Linked DNA regions of Homo sapiens: regions 1 and 2 are each linked to region 3. Evidence: promoter capture Hi-C in 16 types of primary human blood cells and fetal thymus (Javierre and others, 2016). All regions are on one chromosome and are shown on one strand. Each heading gives the region's core, a stretch centred on a gene start or on the middle of the fragment in contact. The rest is flanking DNA. Distances are from core to core; before and after follow the strand shown. Region 1 overlaps ZNF644 (zinc finger protein 644). Region 2 has its middle 120 kb from the start of ZNF644. Region 3 holds the start of BARHL2 (BarH like homeobox 2).

Region 1 (4,129 bases), core at 1,128-3,627, 270 kb after region 3:
TTAACAAAACATTTACTGAATGCACACAGTATTCCCAGCACTGTGCTAAGATAAACGAGACATGGATGGTATCTACCTTCAAACTCATACTCTAATAAAGAAGACAAACTACGGCCAGGCATGGCTTAAAGGATCAGATGATGCTTCAGATAGGCTATTTCAGAAGATAAGCTGACAACTAGCAAAGAGGTCTCTGGCAACTGGGGAGGCATGGGATTGAGGGAAAGTGACAACATGTACCTAGGACTAGAACTAGGAATATGAAACATCATACTTAGTTTATTCATATAATCCTCAGCATTCTGGCATAGCTACGGTGAGATAACTGCATGCCGTGTTATAAGGTTTACTACATTTTATTCTGAAAGTGATGGGGGACAATTAAAGAGACAGGTAGAAGAAGGAAAAGAGTATAAAAAAGTTAGCAAGTAGGAACAGAGATATGGAGAATCCAATAAACCAAATCACTGAGAAAACATAAATACTTTGTAGTGTGTTCATACAATGGAATATTACTAAAAATAAAACAGCAATAAAAAATAATGAACTGCTGACATAGTCACAACATAGATGAAGCTCAAGAACATTATGTTGAATGAAAAAGCCACATACAAGAGTACATACTATATATAAAATCCAAGAACAGGCAAAACTAAATTATGCTGACAGAATTCAGAAAGATGATTACTTCAGGGGAAAAGGCTATTAGACTGGAAGCGGGGAAAGCACAAGGAACTTTCCAAAGTAATGAAATGTTCTATATCTTGATCTAGATGGTGGTTACACATATGAATGTGTATGTGAAAAGTCATTCAGCTCTATACCTCAAATTTTATGTTACCATATATATGTAAACTATACCATAATAAAAAAGAAAAAACTACATATATAAGCATGGTGAAAAATAAGGTCAGAATAAGTTAAACCAGTGTCATCCCACAAGCAATATCAAACATAGAAAATCAGAACAAAAGTTTTAACAGACACTGTATATTCAACTAGAAAACAAACCCTAATAAGACCTTCAAGTACAAAAGAATGGCTTCTTCTCCACTTTAAGAAGATACATAGGCAAGTGTTATTTCTAATAAATGCTACAGAAGTAAATTATTATTCCTAAAGAAAAACAGCCCACTATAAAGCAAAAAATAAAATTTTTCTACACAACAAGAGGAGGTACTATAACGATCAATAAGGTATGACAAGCACTTAACAGAATTTAGAGCACAATAAGTACTCTTCAAACTACCACTACTGTTATTATTATATAATAGCAATAAAAGCAAAATTTTGCTTCAAAACATGCCCAAACCACTGACTGAGATTTCCTTCAGTGCATATTACTGAACTACAGCACTTTTCATCCTAGACTTTTTTTTTCTTTAACAAACATTGAGATCAGCAAATTTTTGACAGCTGAAACATCTGGTTAGAGGGAAAACCAAGTTAACTCCAATTTTTTCAATGTTCTTTTTCCCTTGTTTCCATTTTGAAGCCATATTCACTTACCAATAAATAGTAAATGTATCTTTTTAAAACATGTCAACGGCTTATATTATTAAAAAGCATTCTTTCACATACCAAAGTACATGATGCCAATTCAATTTTTTAAAAGTGAACAGCCTTAGAAAGCTAATCAGAATGCTATATTAGAGAGGTCATTCAGTAGAGACACCCACTAGGAAAACATTAAAACAATAATTTACAATTTTGAATACTATATTAACAGAAAGAAATCACAATTTGGCAAATTTATCCCATTTGGGAAAGTGCTTCCTTAACATTAAAAATGAAGCAAAATTCACAAAAGCAATGACTATTCATATACTTTATCAACAAAGGAGAGAACAATGAAGTGACACAATAAATGTCTTACTGAAGTGGTCAGAGTTCAATAAGAGTGGCTGAACCAAACATTAACTTGATTTTCTAACATTTTAGAATATTCACTGGAAACTTGAATGCTTTAGTTAACCTCAACACAAAAGAAGGAAACTAAAAATTTAGTTCCACAATGTGATAGTTATAATTTTACTCCCATCAAATCAACTGGACCAAGTGTGTCAAAAAGTCAATTATTTGCATTTCAAAATTTTATTTAAAAACTCTTTGGTTCTGAACTCAACACCACATTTTTAAGACATAATTTTTTTGTATTATTCCTACCTTGATATGTACATTTAACAAAGCAGTCTTCTACTTACCTAGATTTTGTCTTATTAACATCTTGCTGCAAGAACGATCTCATCCAAAATTAAATCAAACCTGAAAGAAATACACACAATGACCAAGGTTTAATTTTTTGTTTCAGGCATGAATAACCATAGCTACAATACACTATTATTTTAAATGAAAAAACACAAACCAAATTATATTTCTTGATATAACATAAAAAAACCATTCAACCAGAATACCATCATTTTAATCTTTAGGAAACTATTGCTAAGTGCCCCCCAACCTCACTGCTTTTTTTGAGAAATAATAATCTATTCAAATGAGAAATTGAAACTAATTCTTTTTTTTAAAAAAAATTCTAAATTGTTTTCATTAATTTTAATAGTATGGCAATGGCAATAATTAAAATAATTACTAAAACACACATCTTTCTAGATCAGTATTTATTTAATATTATGTACATATCAAGACACACACCAAACAGCTGAAGACAAAAATGTTATAGTATTGGAACACATAAAAGTATATACACATAAAAGTATATAACAAAGTAATTTGTTAGAGCAACCACAGTAATTATCATAATAGCCAACACTGATTACTTACTAAATGCCAAGCATCATTATTCTAGAGAATAGAATGTATCAATACTCCCCATCTTCAATTTAATCTTTAATCTAGTATAAAGTGACTTCTACACCAACAATCCACTGAACATGCATTTGCCAAAAATATATCCACCATTACTAATTTTACCATATTTCAGAACTTCTGAAAACTCAGTATGTCCCACACTCTACATATCTCCTCCTCCCCATACCTGAAACTAGCTTGTGACTCTTCTAAATTCTCTATTCTTTAAAAAATAGCACCACCACACCTACCTCTGTTCTCAAGCTAGGTTACTTTAACTGTTTTATTTCCAAACTATCATCTCTGATTTGTCCTTCCTAGAACCACAGACCTAGAATTTTCTGCATCGTATCTAGAAAAGATGAGATATTTTCTCTGCCACCCAATGCCATCATCTCCCACCAACCCAGAAGTGGACATGGGGGCCTGTTAAAAACTAAACTATAAAATAAAAGTAAGAACATTAAAAGTCTATTATAAACGACTGAGTGGGATAAGCTGAACTATTGCCCCACAAAAGACTTCCACACCCTGATCCCTGAAATCTGACAATGTTACCTCATATGGCAAAAAAAAAAAAAAAAAAAAGAAGAAGTCTTTGTAGATATGATTAAATTAAGGATCTTGAGAGGGAGGATTATTCCGAATTATCTGGGTGGACCACAGTGCAATCACATGTATCCTTATAAGAACGAGACACACACTGAAGGCAATGAGAAGACAAGCGGAGAGGCCGGGCACAGTGGCTCACACCTGTAATCCCAGCACTTTGGGAGGCCAAGGTGGGCAGATCACCTGAGGTCAGGAGTTCGAAACCAGCCTGGCCAACATGGTGAAACCCCGTCTCTACTAAAAATACAAAAGTTAGCTGGGCGTGGTGGCACGCGCCCGTAGTCCCAACTACTCAGGAGGCTGAGGCAGGATAATCTTGCTTGAACTCAGGAAGCGGAGGTTGCAATGAGCCAAGATCACGTCGCTGCATCCAGCCTAGGCAACAGAGCAAGACTCTGTCTCCAAAAAAGAGGAAGAAGAAGAAGACATGGCAGAGAGAACTGAAAATGCTGCTTTCGTAGACTGGAAGGACATGGGCCATAGCCAGGAATGCCAGCACCCACCAGTATCAGGGAGAAGCAAGGAATGGATTCTCTTCTACAGCCTCCCTCCAGAAGGAACAAAGCCCTGCCATCACCTTGATTTTGGCCCAATAATACTGATTTTGAACTTCTGGCCTCCAGAACTGTGAGAGAATTAATTTCTATTGTTTTACACCAACCAGTTTGTGGTAATTTGTTAGAGCAACCACAGGAAATTAATACACTGA
Region 2 (4,197 bases), core at 941-3,440, 420 kb after region 3:
AAACACTCCCACAGTGCTGGTCAGTGTTGTAAATTGGTGCACACTTTCTGGAGGACCATTTGATGATGTGTACCAGAGACCTTATAAATGATCACATACTTTAACTTAGACATTCTACCTGTAGGAATAGTATCCTAGGGATCCTAATCAGAGAAGTTTCAAGATTGTTATCCAAGGATGTTTATAACAGCATTATTTATGCTAGAGCCAACTTAAAGCAACAAAAAGGTCGAAATATAGGGAACTTGTCAAATAAATGATGACAGAGTGATACGGTGAATGTTAAGAAGTCATAAAAATGTTGTTTCAAAGAATATTTAATGTCATGGAAAATTACAACACAACTTTGAGAAAAGAAGGACATAAAACAATGCATATGCATATATATACATACATAATAAAGTTTTTAATATGCATTTATATATTTTAAAAAATGCTTTAAAAGAAAATCTGGAAGAAAATAACACCAAGTTGAAATAGGAAATAATCAAAATGTTAAGAGCATTTATCTGTTCACAGTAGGATTATGTGTTTTAATATTTTCTTTTTAAATTTCCAAATACTTATCAATGTATTATATGCTATTAATAATCAGAAAAAAAGCTATTTAAGCCACATACATATATATATATAAATACACACACATATATATAAAAACACACACACACGTGTGTATATATATATATATATATATATACATATATATATTTTTTTTTAGATGGAGTCTCGCGCTATCGCCCAGGCTGGAGTGCAGTGGCACGATCTCGGCTCACTCCTACCTCAGCCTCCTGTATAGCTGGAATTATAGGCACTTGCCACCACGCCCAGCTAATTTTTGTATTTTTAGTAGAGACGGGGTTTCACCATGTTGGCCAGGCTAGTCTTGAACTCATGACCTCAAGTGATCTGCCTGCTTTGGCCTCCTCAAGTGTTGGAGATTACAGGCGTGAGCCACCGTGCCCGGCCTACAAAAAATATTATTTAGGTTAGTCTTTAGTTGAAAGGATAATTATATTCAGAAAACAAAGAACAGAGACAGAGGTTTTCCCTACTCTCAACCTATTGACACAATTACAGGGAACAAGCAGGTGACCTGATTTGCATTTCTGTTCTTTTTCCAGCTTACTCCTTGGGAGAGGTGACAAAGGCAAACCCAAAGTCAGTTCCACTGAAATCTTCAATGCCTTCTCTTTGTCATCATCATTGCTAACAATTAACAAGCTTGTACCAGGTGCCGGGCATGGTTGGAAAGGTTTTGGATATATTGCCAATCAACCCTCATAACAGACCTTTGAAATAGATAGTATTATTTTTCCTGTTTTACTGATGAAGAAGCCAAGGAATAGAGAAACTTGTTCAAGATCACACAGTTAGTAAGGGGTGGAGCTGGATTCAGACCCCAGGCAACCTCACTTGTTAGAATACAATGCTCAGTGCTACATGCCTCTGAGAAAGCAACATAGAATATTGGAATTTTGGAATTAGAGAAGACCACAAAAGTTTTGGTTTTTTGGGGGTTTTTTTGAGACAGAGTCTCTCTCTGCCGCCCAGGCTGGAGTGCAATGGCGTGATCTCGGCTCACTGCAACCTCCACCTCCTGGGTTCGAGCAATTCTCCTGCCTCAGCCTCCTGGGTAGCTGGGATTACAGGAATCCAACACCACACCTGGCTAATTTTTTGTATTTTTAGTAGAGACAGGGTTTTGCCATGTTGGCCAGGCTGGTCTCGAACTCCTGACCTCAGGTGATCCACCTTCCTTGGCCTCCCAAAGTGCTGGGATTACAGGTGTGAGGCACTGCACCCGGCCATTGTTTTAAGCAAAGAAATTTTTTTCACATCATACTGTGTAATTCCAACGTCTAAAACTTTTTTAAAGGAGGATTTACTTCCAGTCTAGCTTAGGTAGAGACTGTGCTTCTCCCTCGTTTCCTATTGAGGTCACTGTGGTGCCTTTGTTTTGTGCAACTCTTCTGGGAAACTATTGTCCCACTCCAATCACTTCTACTTAGAGATGAGAAACCTGGGCCCAGAGCTTTAAAAGAACCTCCCCAGGGCACCCATTTAGTATGTGCATAAGCCAGTGCTTTTCTAATACTACCTCATAGTACACATATATATTATTCAGAACTCCTTTTGTTGTAAGAAACAGAAACCCAACTCAAATTTGCTTAGACAGAAAAAGGAATTTATTAGTTCAAATAACTAGGCAGTTCAAGGACAATCTGGGTCAGATATAACTAGCTCCATGAGCCCAATATTAACAGAAGAGGTTCTGTTCTTCCTACCATTTGTTAGCTCTGCCTCCCTATGAACTGACTTCATTCTCAGATGGGTTCTCAGCACCATACACCTATACCAGAACAGCTCTAGATGTGCAGGATCCCTGAATGGGGAACTGAATAGTCACTATCATCTGTGTATTCTTCTTGTAAGGAAGATTTGGTTGGCTTTTATTTTTGTTGATGGTATGACTAAGTTAGGTCACCTGCTCCCTTGCCCCAATTTAAAAAAAAATAAAAGAAATGAACACGTAGTGGTCCATAACATGGACCACTATCCTTGGCACGTCTGATAAAAGTGAATTCCTGGAATCCAGGCAATCTGTTCCACTGATCTTTTTTCCCACCTATATCACACCATCTTGATTACAGTAGTTTTACCAAACTCAGGTAGAGAAACTCTTCTAGATGTTGTTGTTCCTGCTCTCCTTCTCCTTTTCTTTTTCTTCTTCCTTCTTCACCTTCTTCTATTAGATTTATTGATGTATAATTTACATATAATAAAATTCATCAATTTTAAGTGTGAAATTTGACAAGTGCTTATAAATAATAAAGTCTCATAATCATCACAGTCATGGTATAGAACAGTTTCAAAACTCCGAAAACTTTCCTTGTGCTTCTTTGCAATTGATGCCCTGTTATCACCTTCTAGGCCCTAGCGTCTACCTTCTTTCATGTAATTAGAGTCAGTATGTTGCCTGTTGTGTCTGGTTTCTTTCACTTAACATAATGCTTTCAGATTCATTTCTCTTTTTGCATTTATCAGTTTGTTCCTTTCTAATTTTTAGTGGTACTACCTTATATGAATATGCCAACATTCGTTTATTCATTCACAAGTTCATGTACATTTGCATTTTTTCTAGTTTTTTGCTATTGCAAATAAAGCTTCTATGAACATCTGTGTACAAGTTTTTGGGTGAAAAAATGATTTCATTTCTTTTCTTTTTTCTTTTTTTTTGAGACAGAGTCTCACTCTGTTGCCCAGGCTGGAGTGCAGTGGCATGATCTCAGCTCACTGCAACCTCTGCCTCCTGGGTTCAAGTGATTCTCCTGACTTAGCCACCAAGTAGCTGGGACAACAGGCATACACCATCATGCCCAGCTAATTTTTGCATTCTTAGTAGACACAGGGTTTCACCATGTTGGCCAGACTGGTCTTGAACTGCTGACCTTAAGTGATCCTTCTGCCTTGGCTTCCCAAAGTGCTGAGATTACAGGTGTGCACCACTGCTCCTGGTCACCTTTCTTTTTGGTAAATATCTAAGAGTGGAATTGCTGAACTGTATGGTAAGTTGATTAATTTTAAAGAAATTTCCAATTTGTTTTCCAGATTGGCTATACTATTTTACATTCCCGCCAGTGGCTTATGATGGCTCTAATTTCTCCACATTTTCCCCAGAACTTGGTATTTTCACTCTTTTTTATAACAGCCATTTTAGTGGCTATGTGGTGGTGTCTTATTTTAATTTCAATATGCATTTCCTAATGTCTAATGATGTACAGCAGCTTTTCATGTGCCTGTTTGCCATCTGTATATCTTCTTTGGTGGAGTCACTGTTCAGACCCCATTTTTTAATTGTGTTGTTTGAGTTATAGAAATTCTTTATGTATCATATTAGGTTGGTGCAAAAGTAATTGCAGTTTTGGGCCGTGAATTTTAAATCATTGTAAGTAGGATCAAACACATCTTTATTAATCAAAATAGGAACAATTCCAATCAACACATTTTTGCCAACGAGAAATAAGTTTGTTTTTTCCTGTAGCGTAAAAATCCATGCTTCGGAATTTGATGAACTCTTGGAAAGCATTTTCTGCATCCTGCTGGTTGTGGAAGTGTTTTCCCTGTGAAAAGTTGTCAAGATGCTTGAAGAAGTGGCAGTCAGTTGGCGAGAGGTCAAGTGAATATGGCAGATGAGGC
Region 3 (4,021 bases), core at 220-2,719:
GTCATCTTATTTTTTTTTTAACAAAAAAGAGATTAATCCAATTTCATAAGATTTTATTTTTATAAATACTACCTCCTAAGTACTTGTAAGGGGCCAAAAATCTTTGTAGGATACAGATACTCAGTTGAGGCCATAGGGTAAGAAGGGTGCTTTTAAGAAACTTATTACAAATTTTTACGGGCTAACCACAATCTAATTTTTTTAAAGTTGCTCTGTTCATGAACTCAGAAATTTTTCCTCCATTAAAACCGATAATTCCTGTGATGATGTTAAGAAAATAAAGTGGGGGGGGGGTGAAATCACTTGTACTAAAGAATAAACACCAGGTTGTGATCACACCCACGCTAGCTAAGTGGTTTCTCTCTCCTACCTCCCCCCATTCCCATTCCCAAAGTCTAGGCTAGAAAAACCCCAAGTCCATCCCTTTTATCAACGAAAAGTATTTCCTGTCGGATGCCCTCCGCCGCCCCTCAACCCCCAGTAGATTAAAATTAAATAAAACAAAGGAAGGAGCTGGATGGCCGTGAAGGTTGTGGGGTAGAACAATAAACAGAACTTCGAGGAGTCCCCACATCGCACGCCCAGGCCTCCCTTCAGCTGCAGTCTTTTGACCGTCGCCCAGTCGCCCGAGAAGCTCCTGGAATCGCTCCCCAGCAGAGATCTGCTGAAGGCTGAAGGGGAGATTGGGAACCAGGAGGACAAGCTAGACGGCCGAGAGCGCCGGGTGGCGGGACTCACCGTGGCATTTGATGTCGCTCTGGGAATCCTCCCGCTTGTCGAGTTTGGTCTTGCTGTCCTCCTGCTCGAGCTTTGGCCTGAAGCTCTCGTGCACTGCGTTGCTCTCCTGCTTCGGGGTGTGGTGGGGAGAGGATACGCTGGTGCTGTAGGGTGCACATGCCGCCAGAGGTTTGCTGTCGCCCAAGATGTCCTTAATTAAAAAAGAAGACGTGGAAGTCCTGGGGGCCGAGGCGGCCGAGCCCAGCTGCTGGGGGGGCGGCGGCGGCGGCTGCTGTGGCGGCAGCGGCTGCTGCTGTTGGGGCAAAGGCTGCAAACTTTGCGTCGGGGCCGCGGCCGGCGGCGGCGGCTGCTGGCTGTGGTGGAGGTGGTGATGATGCTGGGTCGCGTCTGCTACCAGATGCGGCTCCGGGGGCTCCATGGTGACTGAGATAGGAGAAGAAGGCGCCGTCCCTACGGTATCAATCTCCGAACAGGGAGATGGGGTGGCCTGACTCCTAAAATCCGCGGTCCTGGCCTCACCGAGCGGGCGGAAATCTCCATTCATCATGCCTGGGCTGCCTGAACTGGCACTGGACAAAATCGTGTCTATTCCAAAACTCGACCCGCTGGCCCCTTCCATTGTCATTGCTACATGAGGTCCACGCCACTCCGCCGTTCAGCAGCCGCCCCGAACCAGCGAAGAAAGCTATCGATCGTAAAACAAAATAAACACCAAACAATGTTGCCGCCGCTTAAAAAAAAAAAAGTGGGGCGGGGAGAGAAGGAAGGGTAATTGGGAAGTGGCAATCTGTGGATACTTTCGACACAACTTTTTTTCTTTTATGCAAAAAGTAGGGGTGGAAAGAAAAAAGATGCGGGGGGCGGGGGGAGTTAAAAAAATTTCTGAGAAAACTCGGAACTTGCGCTCCAGGAACGACTGCGCACGTGGCGCGGCGGTGGCGGCGCGGAGGACCCAGGCGAAGGCGAAGGCGAAGGCGAAGGCGCAGGCGAAGGCGAAGGCGCAGGCGGCGGGAAGCTACGCCAAAGCCGCCGCCGCCGCCGCTGCCGGGGTCTGCCCACAGCCTGGCACCGGGCGGCAGCGGTGGCGGCGGCGGACGCGGCAGGTGCAGCGACCGCGAAGCCCGGGCGGCCGCGCGCCCTCGGAACTCCCCCGCGGCTCCCGAGGTGGCAGCCGCGCGCCACTCGGCAGCCCCGTAGCCGAGTTTCTGAACTTTCTTGGAAAGTTGCGGGGCAGACACGGCCGCAGCGGTTGCGGCAACCCGAGGAGGAGGAGGAAGAGGAGGACGACGAGAAGGAGCAGGCACAGAAGGAGGAAGCGGCGGAGACGCGATGCCGGGCGACTCCGGCCGCTGCCGGGCGCGTTCGCTTGTAATCCGGCTGCTGGCGGGCGGCGCCGACCCCCTCCCGTGACGTCACGGCCACTACCGCCGCTCCCCGCGCCGCGCCGCGCCGGGCCCGCGCCCCCGCCACCGAGGCCGCGCGTCCGGCCCCGCGCCCCTATTGGCCGCGCCCGCGCGAGCGAGGGACGCCGACGTGCCAGGGAGCCAATAGGCGCAGCGCTCGTGAGCCCGTCAGCGGACTCGGCTCGGACTCCGCTGCTCTTTTGAGAACCCGCACATCCCTGAGCCCGCAGCCCTGAGCCGAACTCCGAGTCCAGTGGTCCCGGTGTCCACAATCACGAGTGCGAGGCAAAGGGAGAGGGAGGAAGAGATCAGAGGGAGACCAGAGAAAGGGAACCAAAGGGGAGAAAGAAAAAAAAAAGTAGCAAGGATTCGCCCGTTTTCTTAAGTCAGAAGAGAGAGAGAAGAGGACGGGAAGGGACTTACCTTTAGGCTCCAGCGCGGCGGCCCTCGCAGCCTCCCCAAACGCGCGCGGGAATAGTCCGAAGACATTAAGAGCGGAGGAAGGAGATCCCTGAAGGAATCCACAGAAAAGTGTGTCACTTCAGGCGCCGGAGCCTTGCATAAGCGGGCGGGTCGGCTCTGGGCTCTGATTTCTCGCCCGACGAACCCAGGCGCTCGGGCTCAGCCCGGCGGGAGGCGGATCCCTGAGAGGGACACAGCCGGGTCCGCGTCCACCAGGCGCTCTCGGGGAGGACGAGGCCTGAGGCTCCAAGCTGGGGAACCAGCCTGGTCTCCAGCTGGAAAAAATGCCTGGCCAGACGCTTTCTCCCGAACGGGGGAGCTAATGCCCGAGGCGTTCTCTGGTGGCGAGGGCAGCCACGGTTCACTGCGGTGTCGGGCGGGCGCGGGGCTCAGGACCCATAGCGGCTGGTCTGCAGCCCGCGCCCCTGCCGCGCCCCGCGGCAGTCCGTCCACCTCTGTCCCCCGGCCCCTTTCGGCGAGCGCTCATTTGGAAAGGAAACAGTCACTGCGGATCCACTTGGGACCCGGAGCATGACTGTAACGCCTCGTTGGAGTGTATCAACTTGCATTATTTTCTCTAGGACGTCTCCAACCTGTCTCATGTTGAATGTCAGAGTAATGGGAAGTGCCAGTGACAAGACGGCGTATTACTCCTGATTAAGTGCCGTGTCAACCTAATTAGCAGAGTAATTATAAGGTGCTAATGAATGATTCAAAGTTCTTTGAGTTACATTTTACTCCAAATTACCATTTTAAGAACCCTATGAATCTGCGAGGCGGGCATCGCTTCCGTGGCTAGGTCTGGAATGATGTTCGAGTGGCCTTTAATGTCTCCAAAGGCTGGGCCGAAATCTGGAGTTTAGTTGCAGTTCTGGAGGTCACTTTCTGGGCCACAGCTTTTATCTGTTGAGGACGAAGGGAGGGGTGTCAGGGAGGCAAATGACCTCCTGGGACAAGCTCTTGCCTTTCGGTCGGAACTGCTTCTGTGTGAGCCCTGGGTCCGGAAGCGGGTAGCTGGGCGACTCATCCTGCCTGCGTTTTCCTAGGGAAATCGGTGTGTTTGACCCAGAAAAAAAAAAAAAAAAAAAAAAAAAAACAGCACTACTTGGAGGGTGGGTTGAGCTGTTTCTCATCGTCTCAGTGGCATTTTTCCTAGGGCTGTTCCGAGAGAACAGCGGGGATTGAAGGGACGGAGGCAAGGAGATGCACAATCCGGGCAGCTCTCGCTCTTCTCGGAAGGCGAAGGGAGTTTGGCGGAGAAGACGGGGTTGGTGAGCCGAGGCGGGGACTCCGGACGTGCTCCATCCCGGCAGGGGCCGACAGTGGCCAGAGGGGTGCGGGGAGGCCCTCGGGAACGGGTGACTGGGCCCCGCCGGGTGGGGTCGGGCCACTGTAGGCTGGAGCGGGGTTGGATCAAA

Evidence for each region. The method cuts DNA at HindIII sites, captures the fragments that hold promoters and counts their contacts. A CHiCAGO score of 5 or more calls a contact.
Region 1: a fragment that was not itself captured here is called in contact with the fragment with the promoter of BARHL2 in region 3 in 1 of 17 cell types (megakaryocytes); the score reaches 5.4 in megakaryocytes.
Region 2: a contact is called between a fragment that was not itself captured here and the fragment with the promoter of BARHL2 in region 3, in 1 of 17 cell types (non-activated CD4 T cells). The highest score is 5.1, in non-activated CD4 T cells.

The regions. Positions count from the first base shown.
Region 1 is chr1:90,980,106-90,984,234 of GRCh38, forward strand. It overlaps ZNF644 (zinc finger protein 644), which reads right to left. Exons shown (of 6, transcript NM_201269.3): 2 at 2,205-2,265. The coding sequence starts at 2,248. Among named protein-coding and RNA genes, the nearest start is that of ZNF644, 40 kb to the right of the region's middle. The HindIII fragment of the contact is 5,838 bases long and covers 1-4,129 here.
Region 2 is chr1:91,140,078-91,144,274 of GRCh38, forward strand. No RefSeq gene overlaps it. Among named protein-coding and RNA genes, the nearest start is that of ZNF644, 120 kb to the left of the region's middle. The HindIII fragment of the contact is 1,943 bases long and covers 1,220-3,162 here.
Region 3 is chr1:90,715,833-90,719,853 of GRCh38, forward strand. It overlaps BARHL2 (BarH like homeobox 2), which reads right to left and starts at 1,470. Exons shown (of 3, transcript NM_020063.2): 1 at 739-1,470. The coding sequence starts at 1,363. The HindIII fragment of the contact is 6,796 bases long and covers 1-4,021 here.